Linked DNA regions of Homo sapiens: region 2 is linked to region 1. Evidence: promoter capture Hi-C in 16 types of primary human blood cells and fetal thymus (Javierre and others, 2016). All regions are on one chromosome and are shown on one strand. Each heading gives the region's core, a stretch centred on a gene start or on the middle of the fragment in contact. The rest is flanking DNA. Distances are from core to core; before and after follow the strand shown. Region 1 holds the start of CXorf38 (chromosome X open reading frame 38). Region 2 overlaps USP9X (ubiquitin specific peptidase 9 X-linked).

Evidence for each region. Contacts are between HindIII fragments. The CHiCAGO score rates a contact against its expected background, and 5 or more counts as called.
Region 2: a fragment that was not itself captured here is called in contact with the fragment with the promoter of CXorf38 in region 1 in 6 of 17 cell types (monocytes, naive CD8 T cells, neutrophils and 3 more); the score reaches 8.0 in monocytes.

What each region holds. Positions count from the first base shown.
Region 1 is chrX:40,643,582-40,651,071 of GRCh38, reverse strand. CXorf38 (chromosome X open reading frame 38) reads left to right here and starts at 3,511. Exons shown (of 7, transcript NM_144970.3): 1 at 3,511-3,767; 2 at 3,931-4,065. The coding sequence starts at 3,552. MED14 (mediator complex subunit 14) reads left to right here. Exons shown (of 31, transcript NM_004229.4): 31 at 1-2,767. RefSeq lists silencers at 3,295-3,475, 3,311-3,610, 3,731-3,880, 6,541-6,835 and enhancers at 4,131-4,330, 6,018-6,247. The HindIII fragment of the contact is 2,915 bases long and covers 1,331-4,245 here.
Region 2 is chrX:41,204,350-41,211,426 of GRCh38, reverse strand. USP9X (ubiquitin specific peptidase 9 X-linked) reads right to left here. Exons shown (of 45, transcript NM_001039591.3): 32 at 5,934-6,124; 33 at 745-918. Among named protein-coding and RNA genes, the nearest start is that of LINC02601, 68 kb to the left of the region's middle. RefSeq lists an enhancer at 1-305. The HindIII fragment of the contact is 6,191 bases long and covers 838-7,028 here.

The sequences.
Region 1 (7,490 bases), core at 2,262-4,761:
TTGGTTGTCTTTCAATATATAGGATTTGGGTGAAAAATAAGGAACTTAGTCTTTGAGAAGGGACAGTATGTGGTTCGTATTGATCAAGGATCCCAAATAATGCAATCATTCTCATCTGTTGAGGATGTGGGAACTTTTCTGTCAGGAAAATTTAGTTTACAGAATACTTCTGCATACAACATTAATTAGGAAACAAAGAACTTTAATGCTGTACCTCTGCATGAAGTTTCTGTGAGCTTTCTTTATCTTGCTTAACTTATCCTCCTTTCCTTCCCCACCAAAATTGGGATTGTTCTAAACAATTTCAATTTAATTCATTGTCAACAAAACGATAGAATGTTTTGCTTGGAAGAAACCTGGTCCATTCCCCTCATTGTGAAGAATCCCGAATCCTGGGCCTGTCCAGGGTCAAATGGAGTTTTTGGTATTAATACATCTCTGCAGGGTTTCTTTTTGGAGCACTGTGCTGTCTTTCCTAGTCAGTCAGGGACTTTTTTAAGCTTCAAAGAACATGGTCTGATGCAAAGGTCTTCTACCGACTTCATGGTATTTAGGAAAAATTTTTAAGTGATAATACCATGCCGAGTTACCTGGTCACTGTAATACTGGTTCTCCATTAAAATGTAGATGCTTTGTCTAATTCCACTTCAAGATGATTTAATTGAGCTTCTATAACTATCAACTATCAAATTCTAGTTTCAAGTATCTCACTGTACCTATATCATATCTGTTCTCAACTTTGTTTGATTCTCCACTCATTTTCAATCAGAGTTGAAGCCTTCTTTGCCTTTCTTCTTTGTCTTATTTCTGCCTTCATCTCCCACTTCTCACCCAACTCTGCCACTGTTCAGGAGCAGTTGACTAAACTTTTATCCTTCCTTTAACTTAATCTTTTTATCCTTCTGTTTTTAGTTCTTACAGTGGTAATCACATCAGTTTGGCAATCTAAGATGTCTTTATCAAGGGTCAGCCCTTTTCTATTTGGAGCTGAATCTTTTCTTTCATGTAGAAATCTACATGTATATACAAGAAATGTATTTTTATCTGCAGGATAATATTGTTTCAAATAATTTTATTAAGAGTTAACTTTTTAGGTATTTTCCCTTTTAATGTGGTTTTGAAATGTTAATTGCATTTTTACACATGATGCATTCAGTGGACACTCTTTTTTCCTAATTATAACTCATCTCTGAATGCATTGTGCCAATCAAGAGTAAGATAGGATTCAGTGCGCAAAATTTGCTTTTGATGCTTATTAAGAGTAAACCCATGAATTTGAATTTTTATATTATGCTTGGTACTTGGAATTGATATATACCTTATTAAAGCTTGAAAACATTTAGCATTTGAATAGTAAGTTTCATCACAAATCATGTCTTTTGCCTCTTTTGTTACCCAGGTTCGATCAAGGGGACTGGATGCCCAAGTGATTTTCTCTAATAATCGGGTTGGGACTTAACTTTAAGGTGTTTTCAATGTGATTTTAGTATTTACAGTAATAAATAAAATTTATACAAAGTTTCAGAGAACTACCAACTCTCTAGTTAATTTTGATGAAGATGTTTTCATTAATAGTCTGGTTTAGTATTAATTTAACCTTGAAATAAGAAATTGGTCCTGATTTGCCACCTTCATTTTTCCATCTGCTGAAATGCCATTTCAGAATGTATAAAAGTACTTTCAGAATTAGAAGAAAAGTGAGAGCTTCAGCAGAACGTGTCAAGTCGCTAATAACAGGAGTCGAACCTTATGTTTGAAAATTAACTGAGTGAGTTAAGTGCAAGCATAAACTAAAATTTATATGACTTTGAATTTAAGAACCACTAATAACTGTGTTCTAATTAACACAGTAATCTGTTCAGCCAAAGGATACTAACAGCCATTCTTTGGACTGTGGTTAATTTGATAACTTCAAGAAGTTATAACTTTGCTACCCTGGATTCTGATGCAATTTCAATATAAAAAGTTGTTCCTTTCATAGTTTTTCCCCCCAAAAGAAGTGCCTATTACATTTTACCTTAATGTTTATTTATCATCCAAGTGTTCTTGATATAAAATCAGTATACAGAAAATTTTAAGAGAACTTACATTCAAGGGACATAGAGGGAAAATGTTAATGTGTATTTCATTGTTTCTTGTGGAATTTTTTTTTCATTCGGTTTGAGAATGGACAGTGTGTCTAAGGATGTGATTTAAATTTACTTAGGATGGATTTAGCATTGAGGTTATTAAGACAAAGTTAGCAGAGGCCAGCCAGCACTGTGCTGCACAACTCCAGGAACTCCATGGTATGCTCACAATTTTCTGCAAGTTGCCTCCACTTCCAAGTGGCCAGTGATTTGTTAAAATACCTTGCCCAAGAATATAACTGATTGATGAAAGGGCATATTTAGGTCAATATAAAATAATAGCAAGTATTTACTGAGAGCTTACTGTGTGCTAGGCATTTTCTTAATATTTCAATGTGTATTTAATCCTCACAACAACCCAATGTGGTAGGTTATTGATATCCTCTTCTTAAAAATGAGTAAATGGAGGCCCAGAGAAATGTAATTTGCCTGAGATCAAATTAAGGTTGCTTAAGATCAAACTGCTAAGAAGGGGCAGTTTGAGTCTGAGCTAGTGCTCCTAAACACTGGACATTTTTGCTGTGAACCACAGTCGGGAAGGTTTAATGTTTAGACTCTTTCCTCAGAGGCTTTTAACTACACACAATTTTGACATGTTTTCCAAGCTCAGAAAGCTCATTAAAAACAACTAAAACTGACCTGACTTGTCACTTGGAGTTGACAATCCCAGTGCCTTCTGACCTTTGTGGCACTTCTTTGGAACTTAAATCAGACTTCCATGTGCAAGGAGCACTAATTATCATATAATCAAGAATACTAGATAATTATCGTCTAACCTTTGCTAGGTGCTTCAGGATGCCCTTATCTGGCTCAGGTGTGCAGCCTTCTAGAATCCAAGTGATGTGTTGCCCTAAACAGGCAAACGCCCCCTTCTGGGTGGTCCAGTGGCGGGGGATTTTGAGTTTTGGGTTAGCTTGGCACACCGCAGGCAGCCAGCGGTCACGTTTCACTAATACCTCAATTTGCTACAGCTGGTCTGTGGGCTTAGGAACCAGTAACTCTAGAATTGTATAATGCAAAGAACATACACGATTCAAGCAATGTGCCCTGAGCACCTTGTACATCTGGACAATAAAAAAAAGTTAAAACAGAAGTGCCCTACATTAGGAGAGGGAGTCGAATCGGATGCTGACAGGGTCTCTGTTTGGGGGACGAAGAGGGCCTAAGGGTTTCAAATAGTTAACTGCTTCCCCAAGCACCAAAGTTGTTAGACGTCAGACGTCAGACGTCACCCAAGTGGGGTGGAGCCGACGTGCCCCGGAAGTCAAGATGCCCCGCCCCGGGATCGGTGGCACCGCGCCGCGCAGGCGCAGGCGTCGCTGCCGCCGGCGCAGGCGCCGCTGCCTCGGGTACTTCCCAGGCTCCGCGCCTGCGCACTGCCGTCCGCCACGCCCCGCAACCTCCTGGTTCCAAGTGGGAGACATGGTGCTGTCGGAGCTAGCGGCGCGCCTCAACTGCGCCGAGTACAAGAACTGGGTGAAGGCGGGCCACTGCCTGTTACTGCTGCGCAGCTGCCTGCAGGGTTTCGTCGGCCGCGAGGTGCTCTCCTTCCACCGCGGCCTACTCGCCGCAGCCCCCGGCCTGGGGCCCCGCGCCGTCTGCCGCGGCGGCTCACGGTGCAGCCCTCGCGCCCGCCAGGTGAGCACCTGGCTCGGGGCCTTGACCACCGCCCCCACCCCACCCCTCCTCATCCCCGTTCCTGTCCCAGACCCAGAGCGCAAGTGTCCTGTTCCCTCCGCGATGCGGGGCCCACCGCGACGTCCCTCCCTCCTGGGCCCCTCCTCACCGCCGCCCCCTGTAGTTTCAGCCTCAGTGTCAGGTGTGCGCTGAATGGAAAAGGGAGATTTTGAGACATCATGTCAACAGAAATGGAGATGTGCACTGGGGAAACTGCCGGCCGGGCCGCTGGCCCGTGGACGCCTGGGAGGTGGCCAAGGTAAGCGCCTGAGGCGGGGACGGAAGGAGGAAGCGGCGGGTCACCCAGCACTCGGGGTGGCTATCTGGTCTTGTGGTCGCCGGGGCCTCATAAACAGATGCAGAGAGAGAGATTGATCAAGGGTCTAGGCGGTTCAGGGGTGGTATGCGGGACCCAACCCAGCTTAGTGAAGTAGAAGCTTTCTTCTACCCGTCTGCTTCCTGAGGGCATTTGAGTTTGTTACCCCTGCTTGGAAAGTTACAGGAAAGAGTTCTACAAGAGATACTGGGGCAAGATGCAGAGCGAGCATCATGAGCACAGGCAGGGAGGGAGGGAGACTCTTGTGTGGCCTGTTTGAGGGTAAGGCTCGCTGAACAGCTCATCAGCTCTTTTTTGGCTATAGGATGCCGTAAGGATGACAGAGTAAGCCAAGGGAAGTTAGGGCTAAAATAGCACCTTAAGTGCCCAGTTAAAGGCACTTTGGGTAGCTGGGAATGGGGTAGGCAGCCGGATCTGTCTTCAGATCTTGGCAATGTCACTTACTAAGTAGATCGAGTAGGAAATTTTTTTGCCCAGTAAGGGACGGAGAGGGACAGCCAGAAGTGGCTTCCTAACACAAATTGACTTTAGCAGTCAGTCTACATGCCAGTAGTTATCAGCAGGCACAGGGTGGGCACTGGAAAGGAGCAGTGCCTGGGAAGCAGATGATCTGAGTCCTGGATCAGCTGCCGTGGTGTGACACTGGGCCAGCTTGTGCTCCCCAATCTCAAAAATGAAAGGACGGCCGGGCGCAGTGGCTCACGCCTGTAATCCCAGCACTTTGGGAGGCCGAGGCGGGCGGATCATGAGGTCAGGAGATCGAGACCACGGTGAAACCCCGTCTCTACTAAAAATACAAAAAAATTAGCCGGGCGCAGTGGCGGGCGCCTGTAGTCCCAGCTACTCGGGAGGCTGAGGCAGGAGAATGGCGTGAACCCGGGAGGCGGAGCTTGCAGTGAGCGGAGATCGCGCCACTGCACTCCCGCCTGGGCGACAGAACGAGACTCCGTCTCAAAAAAAAAAAAAAAAAAAAAAAAAAAAAAAAAAAAAAAAAAAAATGAAAGGAATTGGGGCCGGGCGCGGTGGCTCATGCCTGTAATCCCAGCACTTTGGGAGGCCAAGGTGGGAGGATGGCTTGAGCTCAGGAGTTCAAGACCACCCTGGATAACATGGCAAAACCCCGTCTCTACAAAAAAATACAAAAATTAGCTGGGTGTGGTGGTGCATGCCTGTAGTCCCAGCTACTCAGGAGGCTGAGGTGAGAGGATCACTGGAGCCTGGGAAGTCGAGGCTGCAGTGAGCCGTGATCACACCACTGCATTCCAGCCTGGGTGACAGAGCAAGACCCTGTCTTAAAAAATTGAACTGTATCAGGGGTCCCCAGACTTTTGGGTATCACGAGCCGGTAAACCCACCACACCTACACCATCTTCCCCATTTTTTTCCACTGCAGCCATAGAGTTGCTGACTTCTACTTCTACCTAGAAAAGAGAAAAAAAACAGAAAGAAAGAAAACTCTGCCCTTTACAATGCCTGTCCCTCATCTGTTTGGTCTGCGTTGCTGCTTTCACACCATTGGAATCCTCTTGTAGCCTGTACTACCTCCTTATACCACTCTTTGCTCCTCTTGGTTGCTGTCACCTACAGACCTTCTAGTCCAACCCCATCCTCTCAGTTTCTGGGCTCCTGATTCCAGCATCCTCTGCTTCACTCCCCCTCAGCCTCCGGCTTGCATGCCCACACCCTGGACCTTGGCACAGAAAGTCTCAGTGTCTAACATCCTGCTGGCCTTTGGCACACTTATTCATGCACCCCTGCCCCCAACCCTGTGCCCCATACTACTTCCGCCTCTTTGAGGCTTCCACTGCTTCCTGAATACCCAGCACCCTCTGTCCTCCTGCCTGCCTTTGTCACCTCAGCTAGCCCAGATTCCATGGCCCATCATTATAATCCGTCCCTTGCTGTTATCTCAGCTTTTTTTTTCTCCTTTCTCTGAACTTGCCTGGCCCAACTCCAGTCCTGATGACATTTTCTGCTTCTGATTAGTGGGAAAGAATCTCACAAGGGAACTGACTGGTTTCACTTTCATTCTTGATCATGAGCCCCAGCGGTCTGGCCACATCTCTCTCTAGGCTTCAGTTTCTGGAGACTACTACTTTTCCCTGGCAAATCCCTGCTCCCGTTCCTCCGCCCTTGCTCATGCTTCACGGAATTGATGGAGGCCCTTGGACATACATAGTTGTCTCTCCTTATCCATGGGGTATTGCTTCCAAGACCCCCAAGGATACCAAAATCCACAGATGCTCAAGTCCCTGATATAAAATGATGTATGTGGTATTTGCATATTACTTACATACATTCTCCTATGTACTTTAAATCATCTCTAGATTACTTATAATACTTGATAGAATGTAAGTGCTATGTAAATAGTCGTTATGCTATATTTTTAAAAAATTTCGATTACTTTTTACTGTTGTATTATTTTTCTGAGAATTTTTCATCCACAGTTGGTTGATTCTATGAATGCGGAACTCGTGGATATGGAGGGCTGACTATACTTCCTCTTCTTTTTGCCAACACCAACTAATCTCCATGTGCACCATCTATTTCCTTCTGCTACAGAGGAGGAAGGGTGTCTCTCCTCTTATTGCCTCATACCTCCACTCGTGTGTTGGATCTTATCCCTTTTCTCTTGCTCAAGGCCTTTGAGGCTTCAGCTGTCCACTCTCTCTCTTGCAGCTCATTCCCATCTCCATAGAAAAAGCTTTAATATAGCCATGGTTTATTTAAATTTTTTTAAAAGAAACAATTAAACAGTTACCACATGACCCAGCAATTCCCCTCCTAAGTATATTCCCAGGAGAAATGAAACCATACATTCATACAAAAAAATGTACGCAGATGTTCATAGCAGCTCCATTCACTATAGCCAAAAGGTAGAAACAACCCAAATACCCATCAGCTGATGAATGGAATTTTTAAAATGCAGTATCTCTGTACAATGGGATATTGTTTTGCTGTAACAATGTAACAAAGGAATTAAGTACTAATACAAGTTACAATGTGGATAAATCTTGAAAACAGTATGCTGAGTGAAAGAAGCTAGTCACATATTATATTTATATGAAATGTCCATTTTATATAAATTCCATTTAGACTCCATTTGTAAGAAATGTCCAGGCGGGGCACGGTGGCTCAAGCCTGTAATCCCAGCACTTTGGGAGGCCAAGGTGGGCAGATCACCTGAGGTCAGGAGTTCAAGACCAACCTGACCAGCAAGGAGAAACCCTGTCTCTACTAAAAATACAAAAAATTAGCCAGGCATGGTGGCGCATGCCTGTAATCCCAGCTACTCGCGAGGCTGAGGCAGTAGAATCACTTGAACCTGGGAAGTGGAGGTTGCGGTG
Region 2 (7,077 bases), core at 2,684-5,183, 560 kb before region 1:
AACTTACTGTATTTACACTATTATAATCACTCAAGTTCTAAGATAAAGGGCAAATTTATAAATAACACCTGTAGCTATATGCAAAATGCCATTTTATTTCCTCAGGAATAATCTTCTGTAAAAGAATGTAAGAGTAGGCCAGGCGCAGTGGCTCACGCCTGTCATCTCAACACTTTGGGAAGTTGAGGTGTGACGACTGATTTTGAGGTCAGCAGTTTTGAGACCAGCTTGGGCAACAAGAGATTCGATCTCTAAAAAAATTTACAAATTAGCCAGGTGTGGTGGCACATGCCTGTAGTCCCAGCTATTTGAGAGGCTGAGGCAGCAGGATTGCTTGAGCCCACAAGTTCAAAGTTACTATGAGTTACGACCATGCCACTGAACTCCAGCCTAGGCAACAAAGAGAAACCTTGTCTCTTTCAAAAAAGAAAGAAAGAAAAAAAAAGAGAAAGGAAAAGAAAAAGGAGAAAGGAAAGGAAAGGAAAGGAAGAAAGAGACTGTAAGAGTATAATATAATAAAATGGCTAAGAGATCAGGCAGAGTAGAAGGAACTAAAAGTTAACTGACAAAAACAAAAAAAAGCCCCACAGCAGTAAGGTATGCAAAGTATATAAATCATTCTGTTTCAGGTATTTAGTAATCAGTGATATACTCCACTTTTGTATGTAAGTACTAGTAAAAATTTTATTTCTGTTAGTATATACATGGTACAACATATACTTTCAATGTGTAATTAGTACTTACCTATGTGGGCAGCCTTGGCAGATCTTCTGATCAGCAAAGGAACCTCCTAAGACTTTACTTAGCATAGCTGGATGTCCTAAAGCTTTTAAAGCTTCATCTAAACTATCCACCAATGAATTAAAAAATTCTAAAGCATCGTGTTGTTCACGCAGATTAACAGGCTCACCCCAAAGCCTAAGAAATGAATGAAATAAAACATGTAACATGTAACATTCACAGAACAATATGTACAACTATATTTTTCAGGGGAAAAAAAAGCAACAAGACCACAAACAACAGTATATAAAACCGAGATTTTATTCCTCAATTACATGGAAAAAGTAGGAAAAAAAGAATGTGCTTTCCCTGTAGAATGTAGTGGGGTAAGAGAGTGAGCCTCATAGTAAAACTAGTACTCTAGCGGCAAAGAACTGCCACAAAACTAGTGGTGTAATTGATGGATAGTACGGCTCCAGGAAGGATGGTTGCTTCAGGTGGTATGACACATGCATGCATTTTGAATCCAATTAAAGATACTATTAAGATGAGGTGGTGGATCTCACTCTTATGTGGATGTTACAATCACTATTTTATTTCTTTCATTTTGCTTAAATTTTGGATTATAAATAGTAAAAAGATCAGATCTAGTTACTCTTAAATTTATTTTTTTCCCAAGTGAAGAGAGAAAGGTTTAACTTGTTCTAGAGTTAATCTCTTGAGTAATCTAAGAAAAGACACCATCACTACATACCACAAAAATGAGAACTCATACTGCTAAAACTCAGGCACTGCTGGAAACTATCAATAATACCTGATTTTGTATATACAGAATAATGTATATAGAGAATTTAAGTGTATTTGTTCTAAGCAAGAAATGACATTTTAAAGTATGCAAGAACTGTCTGTTTATACTTTTGTAAAAACCTTTTCTACATAGCAAATAATCTGATCTCTATTATATTTTACACAAGTAAAAATTTGTATACAGTAAGTTTAAAATCAAATATATTATTTGTTAAAAATCAGCTTGTTTCATTACTGGAAATTACACCAGTCCGTTCTATTTACTTTCAAACCATATTCAACTCCTCAAACTTTCAAACATGTAATCAACTAATTTCAAAAGGGAAAAGGTACCCTTTATAAAGGAGAGATCTGTTAAGACACCAAGAAATCAAAATTAATATCACTTAATAATTAAGTGGATAACACATGCCTCCCAATACAGTGCAGTGAGAAACACAAAACATCAATTATGTAGTTTTATTGCCCCCACCCCCTCAACATTTAACATAAAGCTAATCATCAGGAAACAATCACACAAATCAAAAAACACATTCTGCAAGACAACTGGCCTGGATTCTTTAAAAATTTCAGTGCGATACAAGTCACAAGTTAGGGAGATTATTTTACATAAAAGGCAACTAAAGAGCTAACAGCCAAATCCTTGTGATTCCTTCATGAGTATCAGATTGGGATAGAGAGATAAGTTATAAAGACCACTTTTGGGAAATCGGAATATATACTGATGAATATTAGAGATTAAAAATCGTTATTATATTACTTGGATATAACTGTATCATACATAAGTAGGAAAATTGCCTTATTCTGATATATGATCTCTTATAAGATATATGTTGAAGTATGAAGGGGTGAAGCGTCCTGTTTGCAACTTCACTATCAACTTAAGAAAAAAGGCCGGGCGCGGTGGCTCACGCCTGTAATCCTAGCATTTTGGGAGGCCGAGCCGGGTGGATCACGAGGTCAGGAGTTCGAGACCACCCTGGCTAACACAATGAAACTCTGTCTCTACTAAAAATACAAAAAATTAGCTGGGCATTGGTGGCAGGCGCCTGTAGTCCCAGCTACTCGGGAGGCTGAGGCAGGAGAATGGTGTGAACCCAGGAAGGGGAGCTTGCAGTGAGCCGAGATCACGCCACTGCACTCCAGCCTGGGCGACAGAGCGAGACTCCATCTCAAAAAAACAAAAAACAAACAAACAAACAAACAAAACTTAAAAAAAAAATAAACCAAAAACCAAGCACACATATGGCAAGATAAGCAAATATGGCAAAATGTTAATTAGTAAAACCGCATAAAGAATATAACATAAAGGTGATAATTATACCTCTTCTTCATCTTTTCTGTAGGTTTGAAACTTTTCAAAATAAAAGAGTGGGGTGAGGAAGTGTAGTTAACTAACCCGCTTGTGTCAAGAGTAGATTATGTGTCTAAAGTGTGGATAATCCAAAGTGCTAGTCTATACAAACCGAGCTCCACTAGCACAGCGAGTAACTGAAAAGTCAAAAAAGCAAAGGCATTACAAGAGAAAAAATTGTAACTGAATGACAAGACGAAAGTTTAAAAAGTGTAAGCCTCAGCTGGGCGCAGTGGCTCTCGCCTGTAATCCCAGCACTTTGGGAGGCTGAGGCGGGTGGATCACCTGAAGTCAGGAGTTCAAGACCAGCCTGATGAATATGGTGAAACCCAGTCTCTACTAAAAATACAAAAATTAGCTGGGCATGGTGGCAGGCGCCTGTAATCCCAGCTACCAAGACAGGAGAATTGCTTGAACCCAGCGGGCAGAGGTTACCGTGAGCCGAGATCACACCACTGCACTCTAGCCTGGGCCACAGAGTGAGACTCTGTCTCAAAAAAAAAAAAAACCCAGTATAAGCCTCTGTTTGTGTTCTTCAGTTTGGAAGAGCATAAACAGAAATGCTAAAATAGCCTTAAGGCAGAGATGGAATTGGAATAACCTAGGGAAAGAAGACAGAACTGAAATAGTCAGAGAGGAGGGAGAATGGTATGCTGGGTGACGGGACTAAAAGCAAAATGAGAGATGGGAGGGAGGGTGGTCCACGCAAGACACTAGTACAGAGTAAGTAGAGGGCCTAGTTAGGGGAGGAAAAGAAATTTATACTGCTTTGTCAGAAGAAGGGAAGGCGGATCAGAGTATCAGGTGACCCTTCGTTCCCCGCTCCTCTCAGCTGGCCGGGAAGCACCTTGAAGGGATTCCAAGGAGGATTACTTACAAAACAAAACAAACCAAACCTCACTGCTATAAAGAATTATACCCCTTTTCATACACAGTAAGAGTTACGTGGTTGTACTGTAGTTATTTTAGCACAGTGCATGACGTAGTACTGACTTAAAGTCAAAGGAAACAAGATAAAAATGTAATCTGAGTTTTCTAACTTAAAAAGAAAATGGTGAGGGCAATTTTCCCTTTATAGATCTTTTCTAGCTATTAAATGAAAAAATAAAATATTGTTATTTTATAACCCTGAAGAAATACTGTATTAAGATAATGATAATTGGCCAGGTGCAGTGGCTCACGCCTGTAATCCCAGCACTTTGGGAGGCCGAGGCGGGTGGATCACCTGACGTCAGGAATTTGAGACCAGCCTGGCCAACACGGCGAAACCCTATCTCTACTAAAACTACAAAAAATTAGCGGGGTGTGGTGGGCCTGTCGTCCTAGCTACTTGAGAGGCTGAGGCTGAAGAATTGCTTGAACCTGGGAGGCAGAGGTTGCAGTGAGCTGAGATCGAGCCATTGCACTTCAGCCTGGGCAACAGAGCAAGACTCTATCTCCAAAAAAAAAAAAAAAAAAAAAAAAAAGGCCAGGGAGCAGTAGCTCATGCCTATAATCCAGCACTTTGGGAGGCAGGCAGATCACCTGAGGTCAGGAGTTCGAGACCAGACTGGCCAACATGGTGAAACCCCGTCTCTACTAAAAATACAAAACTTGGCCGGGCATGGTTGGCCCACGCCTGTAACCCCTGTTAACCCTAGCTACTCAGGAGGCTGAGGCAGAATTGCTTGAACCCAGGAGGCGGAGGTTGCAGTGAGCTGAGATCACGCCACTGTACTCTAGCCTGGGCGACAGAGCAAAGACTCCATCTCAGGGGAAAAAAAAAAATTGTATATATATAATAATAATAATAAAAAATTGCTGTTAACATCATAAGAAGACAGACATTATAATGTCACTCCTCATGGAGATAAACATTATCCCCTATGAAGTAGCGTTGCCTATCCATTCCACAAAAAGAAAAATAATACCACAATCTGATCAAGCCTCTAGATCTCATAAGGTGTTTATAGAAGATGCAGGTGACCAAGAAAAACAGAAAATAATAAACGACCACAGGGATTCCATCAACAAAATTCAGACTGTGGGAAAATTTACATGCTAAACTATTTGTCCTCCGATTCCCCCATAATTGTAAAGGGAAAAAAGAAACAGATGAATAATCAAGATCATTACCAACCATTTGTGGTAAATGGACCTCAACTGAATCTTATTTTTAAAAAATATCAGTAAAAACCAGTTATGAGATAACTCGGTAAATTCAAACACTGACAGAGATATTTGATATTAAGCAATTTTAAAAAAACATAATGGTATCATGATCATGTTTTGAGACAGACACTACAGACACATACTTAAGTATTTACAGATGGAACTAAGATTTGCTTCAAAACAATCTAGAAAGAAATAGGTAGGGGCCGGGCACAGTGGCTCACGCCTGTAATCCCAGCACTTTGGGAGGCTGAGATGGGAATCACCTGAGGTCAGGAGTTCGAGACCAGTCTGGGCCAACATGGTAAAACCCCGTCTCCACTAAAAATACAAAAAATCAGCTAGGCGTGGTGGTGGGTGCCTGTAATCCCAGCTACTTGGGAGGCTGAGGCAGGAGAATCACTTGAATCTGGGAGGCGGATGTTGCAGTGAGCCAAGATCACACCACTGCACTCCAGCCTGGGCAACAAGAGCAAAACTCCATCTCAAAAAAAAAAAAGAAAAAAAGAAAAAGAAAAAGAAAAAAAGAAAAAAAAAATAGGTTAAGAATATAGATTAAATGAGGCTGGCCACAAGTTGACTACTACTGAAGTTGGGTGACAAGTATACAGGGGTTCATACTATTTTTTCTACTTCTGTATTTATTAGATGTTTTCCTAATAAAAAGTTAATAATATGGTTAAGAGACTAAAGGATGTTGCCCTTACTTACTATGGCAGTTTCTACTTCTTCCTAAGGGGACCTAAAAAAAAAAAAAAAAACCCACCCAATTAAGGACAGTTTGAATATTACCAGTGCTTAAAAAAAGATGCCTTCCAACATGTCTTTTAGAGGTTTAATGTTAGTGTATTGAGATGTTCATTTTAAGAAGTATCTCTATTACTGTCCATCCATAGTTTACCTGAACTGTTTCCAAAATCCTCTGGGCACATAGTATTGCAGTCGAGAAGCAGCTAAATGACCAAAGATGACCTGAAGGTGTCTTAGGACACCAATGTTGTACTCTTTTCTATCTTCAGTTTTACTTAATGCTGGTTTATCTTCAAATTGTTGAGGATATCCAAATACATCATCCCTGGGATCAACATTGCTCTAGAAACCAAAAAATGTCACCAATGAGCTAAAGTATAATAAAATACGTTGAGACAAATGCCAAGCAGTTATTGAACAAATGATTTGTATTCCTATTATGCTCATTTCCAAAGCACTTTTCAATTTATAAATTTTTAGTTATTTAGTGTTTATCCCCACCATTTCACATATTAGTTATCATAACCAAATAACCCTGACCATGTGTAAGAAAGATAGATAATATAGTGTAGCATTAGCATAGTAATTTAGACTGAACTAGACATAAATGCAGGCTCTACCACTTATAAACCAAGTAACTTTGAGCAAGTAAAAACTACTTAAACTTTCTAGGCTTCAAGTTTCTTTATGTGTGAATGGGGGTAATATATCCTTTGTGTAGCTGTTGTATATAAAATGCTCAGATCTGTCAATAAAATATACCTATATCAGTATAGTCATTCTTTGCTTAATGACAGGGATAAATTCTGAGAAATGCATCATTAGGTATTTTGTCATGTGAACATCATAGTGTACCTATAAACCTAGATGGTATAGCCAATTGCTCCTAGGTTGTAAACTTGTACAGCATGTTACTGTACTACATACTGTAGACAACTGCAAACCAACGGTGAATCTGTGCATCTAAAAATAGAAAAGGTACAGTAAAAATACGACATTATAATCTCATTGGACTACTGTCATATATATGGTCTGTAATTGTCTGAAACGTTGTTATGTGGTGCATGACTAGTACTCTTCCACAAATGGTGCTGGGTAAACTGGATAATCCACATGCAAAAGAATAAAGTTGAGCCCTTATGAAACACTACATACAAAAATTAACTCAAAATGGATCAAAATCCTAAATGTAAGAGCTAAAACCACAGAACTGTTAAAAAAAAAAAAAAAACATAGGGCAAAAGCTTCAAGACACTGGATTTGGCAGTGATTTCTTGGATATGACATCAGAGGTA